Regions from separate parts of the Homo sapiens genome. Here region 1 is linked to region 2. Evidence: promoter capture Hi-C in 16 types of primary human blood cells and fetal thymus (Javierre and others, 2016). All regions are on one chromosome and are shown on one strand. The core of a region is centred on a gene start or on the middle of the fragment in contact, and the rest is flanking DNA. Distances in the headings are between cores, read along the strand shown. Region 1 overlaps WDR1 (WD repeat domain 1). Region 2 holds the start of BOD1L1 (biorientation of chromosomes in cell division 1 like 1).

The links. Contacts are between HindIII fragments. The CHiCAGO score rates a contact against its expected background, and 5 or more counts as called.
Region 1: a contact is called between a fragment that was not itself captured here and the fragment with the promoter of BOD1L1 in region 2, in 1 of 17 cell types (neutrophils). The highest score is 7.1, in neutrophils.

Annotation. Positions count from the first base shown.
Region 1 is chr4:10,103,400-10,107,932 of GRCh38, forward strand. WDR1 (WD repeat domain 1) reads right to left here. Exons shown (of 15, transcript NM_017491.5): 3 at 497-587. Among named protein-coding and RNA genes, the nearest start is that of WDR1, 11 kb to the right of the region's middle. RefSeq lists enhancers at 1-368, 4,068-4,533 and a silencer at 3,408-3,457. The HindIII fragment of the contact is 1,194 bases long and covers 2,435-3,628 here.
Region 2 is chr4:13,625,149-13,629,284 of GRCh38, forward strand. BOD1L1 (biorientation of chromosomes in cell division 1 like 1) reads right to left here and starts at 2,577. Exons shown (of 26, transcript NM_148894.3): 1 at 2,197-2,577. The coding sequence starts at 2,439. It overlaps MIR5091 (microRNA 5091), which reads left to right and starts at 2,717; the gene lies at 2,717-2,809. RefSeq lists enhancers at 2,006-2,736, 2,574-2,733, 2,737-3,467 and a silencer at 2,234-2,433. The HindIII fragment of the contact is 7,220 bases long and covers 827-4,136 here.

The DNA.
Region 1 (4,533 bases), core at 1,782-4,281, 3.5 Mb before region 2:
GCTGACCTCCAAGCTGGAACTAACTGCAACACTACAAACTAGAAAGTGTCCTTTCTGTTCTAGAACTAAGGCCAGTTTTGAAAAGGGGCATTTTGGTAGCTTACACCAGGGGTGTTCAATCTTTTGGCTTCCCTGGGCCACAGATAAAATACACTAATACTATCGATAGCTGATGAGCTTGAAAAGAAAAAAGAAAAGAAAAAAAACCTCACGTTTTAAAAAGTGTACCAATTTGTGTTGGGCTGCATTCGAAGCCATCCGGGGCCACATGCAGCCCATGGGCCACCGGTTGGACAAGGCTGGCTTACACATTCCTTGTCAGCCTCAGCTGAAACTAATTATACTGGCTCCCCTCAACTCACCACCCCCAGCCTGCTCCCCCACCCCCCACCTCCCTCCTCCCACTCTCCCAAGGCCAGAAGCCCAGCTTCGCCCTGGGCCCTGAGCGCCACCCAGGCCCCCACAGGTGTCCACGAGCCTTGCCCCCATACAGTACCTCCGGAGGCAATGTAGAATCCGCTGGGCGCATACTTGGCCACCACCACCTGATGGGCGTGCTCTGTGTAGATGTCAGCAAGGGCTGGGTTCTGCAGGAGGAGACCCCGGAATGAACAGAAGGAATGGAGAAGCAGTCAAGCTTCCAGCTCTCCACATCAACAGATATGGGGTGAAAGGGGTGTACAAAGAAACACTGAAGCTAAAACCGTGAAGAAAACCGCAGAAGCATACCACTTGCCTACGTATCTACTGCCTGCCTACCTATCTCTGGGTGATAGAATTTCATGTTACTTTAATTCGTTCTCCTTAGTCTATGACTGTACAACAAGGTGATTTTTTTCCTTTTCTGCTTTTCTGTACTTTCCATAATACAGAACAAATATATCAGTGAAACAGATACACAAAAGGTGGATTAGAGCAAGAAGCCCTGGTTCTAATCCCTCCCATTTGTGGGAAGCTGCATTCATTCCAGCGCTCTGTTCTCTTCCGTGTTTAGGACCAGCTCTCCTGGCTGCCAATCAATGTTGGACCCCAAACTCAGCGCCTGGCTGTGCTGTGCAGGAGCAGAGCAGGACACGCTGTGGGAGCCCTCTCTATCAAAAACTTGGGTTTGGAAAGGAAAGTCGATTCCCCACTCCCTTGCATAGCACAGATCAAAGGCTGGGTGGACTTTGTGGCAAAAATGGGGCCAACATTTGAGACTAGAAGCATCTTCAGCAATGAGGTTTCAACATGTAATGTGCTAAAAGTAGATCCCTGCGCCTCCCTCCCGGCATACACACACACGCAGGGCCTCAGTGAAACAGAAACACACACACACACTGGGCTGCTCTCAATCTGTCTCCACAGTGAAGCTTTCTTTCAGGAGGGAATAAAGACATGGCCATCTAATCTCTGCTACCTACTGTCAGCTTTTTACAAACCAAGTGCTCTTTGAAAGAGGCAGCTTCCCGCCAGCTTGAGGCTTAGGACACACCAGACTCCTGTGAGGGTGCCCGGGCACCCCTAGCATGACCCCACCTGCTGCCACCCCACCCCTCATCTCCCTTAGACCCCTCCTCAAGACCTGAGGGGCCCCCATCTCACGAGACTGAGACCACAGAAGTACAGACCCTGATTCCTGCCCACCTTCTGCCATCCTGTTTAAGCTCCACGTCTGTGTGTAGTCTGTGCCCTTGGCCAGCACCTCTCCCTGCCTACGGACACCCACTCACCCATCAGGCCTAACGGAAGCGTTCCCTCCTCCATGAAGCCTCCAAGTATGGCCCAAGCTATCCGTATCAACTCTTCTGTGCTTCCAGATCATTTAACATGTCCACCGGGATGGCACAACACACATCATAGTCCCTAGCATTCCTGTCCATCTCCTCCAACTCTGCTGTGCCCTGCTTAACATGACCTTTATCTCACTAGCCATCTCAATAAGTGGTTTGGGGGAGAAAAAAAGAAGTACACACAGACCTTCTCTTTCATCCCTAAGACTTAACACAGCATTATGTGATATAATAGACACCAGTCATAAATTAATCCATTTTGGGATAATCGTTCGCCAGTGAAATTAGAATGTATCAAGGTGTCTATCCAAAGAAGATACTACGAATGACAAGTAAGCACATGAAAAAGCGCTCAGTGTCATTAGTCTTGGGAAATGCAAGTCAAAACTACAACAGAATACCACTCCATACTCACTAGAATCAATAAAAAGAAAAGACTGACATCACCAAGTGCTGGCAAGGGTAGAGGGGTGGGGACACTGGAATGTTCACACTGCTGGTGGAAATGCAAAATGGTACAGTTGGAAAAGAGTTGGGCAGGTTATTTATAAACCTAAACAGACACTACTCACACCAAACACCAGCAACCCCACTCCTAGGTATCTGCCCTGGAGAAATGGAAGCATGTGTCCACCAAAAGACACAGGAGCAATGTTCACAGAAGCTTTCTTTGCAATGGCCAAAAACTGGAAATACCCAAATATCCATCAACAGGTGAACAGAGAAACAGGCAACACACCGCACTGCTTAGTGATAGAAAGGAACAAAGTGCAAATGCACTCAACACCAGCTATCAATCGCCAACATGTTATGCAAAGTGAAAAAGCCAGACAGAAAAGACTACACATTGCCTCTCACTTCATATGAAAGAAGATTTTAGAAAAGGCAACCCCAATGACAGAAAGCAGATAAGCAGCTGCTGGGGGTGAGGGTGGAAGGGGTGGCGGGGGCGGGGGGCACCCTCCGGAGTGACAGGAATGTTCTGTCATGACAGGGGTGGTGCTTATGGGACTATATAGGTCATCTGTCAAGATCCAAGCCACACACTGAATACAGACAAATTCTACTGTATCTAAAGTACACCTCAATAAAACTAAGATGCTGGCTATTTATTAAATGTCTGCCCAATCCAACCCTCTCCCACTCCAATTAGTCCTTCATATTCTGACACTGACACATCCCTACCCAAAGCACCTGGCAAGAAAATGATCCACTTAACAGGCAGCCCCTCCAAGACCCTGTTCGGTGTACACTCACAGCTGACTGGGGATGGGGGAGGTCTCACGCTCACATACAGGGGCACCTGCCCATCCCGCCAGACAGATGGCCTCGTGGGCTCTCCCAGCCTGGACGACCTCCTCCCCAGGCCGTGCTGCCGTAGAAAGGGTGGGGCTCCCATGGGCCTTCCGCTGGGGAGGGCATCCAGAGATGGAAGATGCCTGGGCAGGGGCATGAGAGGAAGTTCTGCCCCTAAAAATTCCTTCCCCTAAATGGTCAGGGCTGTGTGTAAAAACCCCAAAGGGCAACAGAATCCTGCCAGCTGATGAATCACTCACTCTCGTTTGTATTCTAAATACAACTGGGTCAGCGGTGGGGGCTGAGATACTCCAAACTGCAGATAATGACTTACATCTGAGTCAGAGCAGCCTCCTCCCCAGCTCCTCAGCTCGCAGAGGGAGGCTGCTTACTACACCCAGAAAGATACCTCACACCCCCACGTGTCACTCGGCCTGTGAGGCTCTGTCCCCATCAGCTGGGTCGAGATGGCACCTTGACACCCTCAGTGTGCCCCTCTCCCCCCAGCCTCCTCCCCCTCCTTCCATCTTGGGGAAGAAGAATGAGATTGGGGGTTGAGAAGCTTATTTGGGGAAAAACTCTGGAATGGGGAAAACGAGACAGGGAGGGCAGGAAGCCAATTCCAGGAGCCCCAGTGCTACTGTAGGCAAAAGTTCTGTCTCCCCATCTCCCTGGGGGCCTGGGGGAGACCACCATGAGCAGCCTTGGAGTTGCCCACTCAGGGACACCCCTCCTCCCAGGCTTTCTTCTCATGCTGCTGCAGGCTGGGCCAGCTCTGGCAGTGGGAGGCTGCCGTTCAGTCCTCACCACAGGCCTGCCCAGTTTTCCTTGCCAACTCCCAACCCATCTTCTCTTTTACCTCCACCATTTTCAATGCAGTCCTCCTGTTCTTCCTGGGAAGAGCGATAACTGCTTTGGAATGCATCTCCACCCTCCACCAAGCCGGTAGTCTTCAAATCCCGACCCTGATTACCTCACGGTCCGGCTTGCAACCCACCCTTCCTGAGCTCCCTCCAGGCTTCAGCCCACTCGTCGCTACCCTGCTGCCGCCCTGACGTTGCCAGCCACTCCTTGGGCTGACTACCCCAACCCATGGCCCCTCACCCCAACCCTTGAGGATAGAACAGGTGCAGCCCCTCTACCTTGCTGGCCCCAGACCCCTTCCCCAGTGGCCTCCACACCTGGGGGCTAGGGCCTGTGAGGGCCAGAGCTGGGGCTGGGATAAGACCTCGAGACAAGCCCCAGAATTCTGCCACCACCCCTGGAGGAGTCCGGGGGCCTCTGAGGACATGAAGGACACCAGCCAGCAATCAAGGAGTCACACACGCGAGCAGACCCAGGACCCACGGACTTCGGCAAGTGACAGCATGTAACAGCACCCAGCCCTGCCAACACAGGGCCTGGTTCAAGGCCCAGTGGTGCCCATTTGAAGCAGAAGCTTTGGACTTGACCCGGGAGGCCATTC
Region 2 (4,136 bases), core at 1,327-3,826:
CTGTGCCTCGGAATGGAAGAGTTTTGTTGTAACAATATCATTCAATTCTTGACCTCAAAAAAGAGGCTAAGAACATTAAAATAGGTTCTTATTCCATGGTTCCTGAACTCACTGAAACTGTATATGTTATTAGATTGATTCTCATGAAATTGCCTATAGTTGACCATTCTGAAGTAGAAAAACAGCGTTTTAATGTGTTACTTGCGCATTTTTCTTGAGAGAAGGTCCTAACTTTCATTAGATGATCAGAGATACTGTGCTTCCCTCCTTCCCTCCAAAAAAGGTTTTAATCCTTTACTTTGAAGGGTCTGGCAGGGATATTATAGACACATACCAATAACATTTTGTGGGAATAGGATAATAAAAAAGTTGAGCCTCAGACATTGCAGCAGTACATTACAATTTTTAATTTGTATACATAATGATTCATGGGTTTCTGAGAACACACAGATTCATGGGTTTCTGAGAACAGCAAAGTAAAAATTCCACTTGTTGAATACGAATAACTAACTTTATTTGATAACATTTACCTGGCCATGTCTAACCTTTTCCCATTAAATAACAACAAAAATAATAAAGGCAATAGAAATTATTTCTAAAAGGTAGCAGTGCATATTCCTGAAGACAAAAGTAAAAAAAACTATACTTCCTAAATAGATGAACACTCCCAAGTGAATTGAATTCTCTGTGGTGCAAAACCTCCAATATCCCGAAAAACCACGTTTTACATAGTGGGCCCAGTATGAGTCCTTATAAAGGAAGATGTACCAGGATATTCAAGAGTTTCCCCAGAAGACATAGTGGAACTGTGTGCAGTTCACCTGAAAGCTTTAGAAGAAACTGTGGATGTTGTAAACATGCATTTCTCAAAGATACAAAGCTCCTCAGAACAACTAAACATACTATGAGAAAACCCTCGACCGGGCGCGGTGGCTCATGCCTACTGGGCGAATCACGAGGTCAGGAGATCGAGACCATCCTGGCCAACACGGTGAAACCTTGTGTCTACTAAAAATACAAAAATTAGCAGGGCGTGGTGGCACGCGCTTGTAATCCCAGCTACTTGGGAGGCTGAGACAGGAGAGTCGCTTGAACCCGGGAGGCGGAGGTTGCAGTGAGCCGAGATCACGCCATTGCATTCCAGCCTGGCGACAGGGCGAGACTCTGTCTCAAAAAAAAAAAAAAAAAAAAAAAAGGAAACCCTCATTTCATCAAAACTCCAATCCAATGGACCCAACCAGATTTAACAAGCAGACAAAAACAACCCCTACAAACCAGTTAATTTTCCAACATGCTTTCTGCTTCCAGAATTCTAGACTGTACTGTGGTTTTCCATCCATCTCACTGACTGCTCTTTCCTGGTGTCTTTGGCTAATTCTTTGCCAATCCAGCTAAGTTTACTTGTTCCTGCTAATGTCCCTTTCACTCTGACATTTGGTACAAAATCCCTTCCCCTTTCCAGCCTCTCTTTCTGGACAGGGAACCTTGTTGCTGTCCTTTCCCTTCTCTACATTACTCTCCTGAATCTGCTCTCTTTCCTGTCCTTTCTCCACTTCAGTATCTGCTGTCACCTCTCCTGCATCTTTTCTCCACTGAATGACTCGGTTCTCTCTACCCCACCTTCCTGTCCCTTCTTACCTTAGAATGGTGACATGGCCTAAGTTACCTAAATCAGGCAATCACTGCTAGAAACAATACTAAAGTCCTGTCTCAGGTTTGCCTCCTTATCTTTGCGCTCCCACCCCCACGATGTCCAGCAAAGCATATTACACATAACTTGATTCAATTACCATTTAGTCATTTCTCCAAAGGATAAAGGCCCTTACCGCCCAGAAACCTTCAAGAAAGAAGGCAAACATAACTTCGATACAAAGTAAAATCATCAGATATGAGAATGAATACAAAACTGGCTACTGTTAGCGCCACTGTTTCCAAACCAGTTCCTGTAAGAACAATGCCTTAGTCTTGCTCATCAGACCGGGGTAATCACTGTGCCGAAACCATGACTGGCACGTAGTAGGTACTTAAACACTAGTCGGTAAAACGAACCAAAGGACACGCTAAGGAATGAACACTCTGTGCTTTGCACAGTCCGTGGCACACAGCTGCAGCTCCAAGAGGAAGCCACTGCAAAAGAAGCGCGCCCTTGGGTCCTCCCCTTCCCTCGCAGACCCCCAAACCCGGCGCGCTCCTAACCTTGGTGTCCACGTCGGCCAGGCAGTCTCTGCGGAACTGGTCGAAGAGCCCCTGGCTCTTGAGGTGGTTCACGATCATGGCCACGAGCTGCGGGTCCCCGGCGCCCGCACCCGCGCCGCCCGCCCCGCCCGCGCCGGGGCCAGCCCCGGGGCCCGGCGGCGGCGGCGGTGGCTGCGGCTGCGGCTGCGGCGGGGGAGGCGGCGGCGCCGGAGGAGGCGGCTGCGGCTGTGGGTTGGTGGCCATGGTGGCCTGTGCCGGGGAGGGCAAGGGCCCTGACCGGCGGACGATCCTGGGAGGCGGCGGCTGCACTGGTCCCGCCGCCTGAGGGAAGCCAACGGGATGTTGTTACGGAACCAGCGGATCCAGAGCAACCCCGGAAGTGAAAGGGAACTGGGGGAAAGGAGGAAAAGACGGTGACAACATTGACGAAAGTCCGGCGACGGAGGCCGCGAAGAGCCAGTTTCGACCGTCGCCGGGCGCAAGCGCCCTCGCGAGGCCGAGCTGCGCCGGAAGTGGCGGCGACTGTGGCGACGGAGACGACAAGACTGTGCTGGTCGCGGGTTGTGGGGTTTAGGTCACCGGCAGGGGTCTGGAGTCCCTGGAGGTTAGGGCTTCGACCCGCGCGACACCTGGGGCCCTAGGTCTGAGCGGGGGCAGTGCGTTTCTGGCCCCGCTTCATCCGCGACGGCATTTTAGGCCTGCCTCTCTTGCTCCAGTTTCCCGGAGCAGTGCATAGAGATCCATAGACATTTGTAATGCGAACCCTACGTGGATCTGCTCATTCTAACTTCGCCCAACCCTCTTCGTTCTTAGCCTGTGATCCTGCACTATTCTTGTCCCAGCAGGTAGCTCCAAGTTCCTTCTGTCTCTCTTCTGCCTGCACATACCATTTCCCCGTGGGGGTCCCTTGTTTCTGGCAGTGTGCCTGTGGATTAGATCCGATCCCTCCAGCCCGTTCTTCCTATCTGTGAAGACAAATCGACAGGCTTTTATTTTTAGGAGATTTGCTATTGATTACTATGATTATAGCAGGTAAAACATCTATAGCACATATTATGTACCAAGCGTGGCGTTAAGTGCTTTTACATGTATTAACGCATTTAATCTTTGGACAAACACTAAGAGCTAGGTCTGATTACTGTCCCCAGTTTGCAAATCAGGGAACCAAGGCTCAGATAAATTAAGTATGTTGAGTAAGATTACACAGCTAGCAAATCACCTGCTTTTGGACTGCATCATCTTTGAAATTATTATTAGTACGTGGTCAAAGCAACATAAATATTAGAAAATTTCATAATTACTAAATAGTGTGTGTAACTTTATTGAAAAATGCATATTGTTGCTTTTTAAAGTTCCTACATCTGTGGCTGAATATATCTTATTAGTAGGAAAAGAAGGGTTGAGCATCAATTCTATTCCTATTTGTAATTTTTATAGCTGTGTGCCCTGAGAAACCTTGTTCATATAAACAAGTACTGTGCCTAGGAATGGAAGAGTTTTGTTGTAGCAATATCATTCAATTCTTGACCTCAAAAAATTAGATTTGATTATCTATGAGCTGACTTCAATTAGGCCCTCCTTCTATTTTATGGAAAGCAAAGAGCTGAAAACCACCTGGCTTGCCAAAGGATTTGTTTACTTAATCCTTATTTTTTCACTCTTTCAGATTCTGGGAAATATACCAGATAGGTTTTACCAAGATACCAAATGACTATGAATTAGACCTGATTTTTTCAATGAGGTGTACCTTTCACCTGATATACTGAAAGTTTGGAGAATATCTAAACATTTTTCATTTTCATAAATAGTTTTGGATAAGATTTATTTTTGTTATCAGGTGGTTAAATTATGTTTTTGTCAAAATTTGCAACTGCAGATTTAGCTCATTCAAGTTCAAAATCTTTGTCACTGGGCACAGTGTCTCACGCCTGTAATCCTAG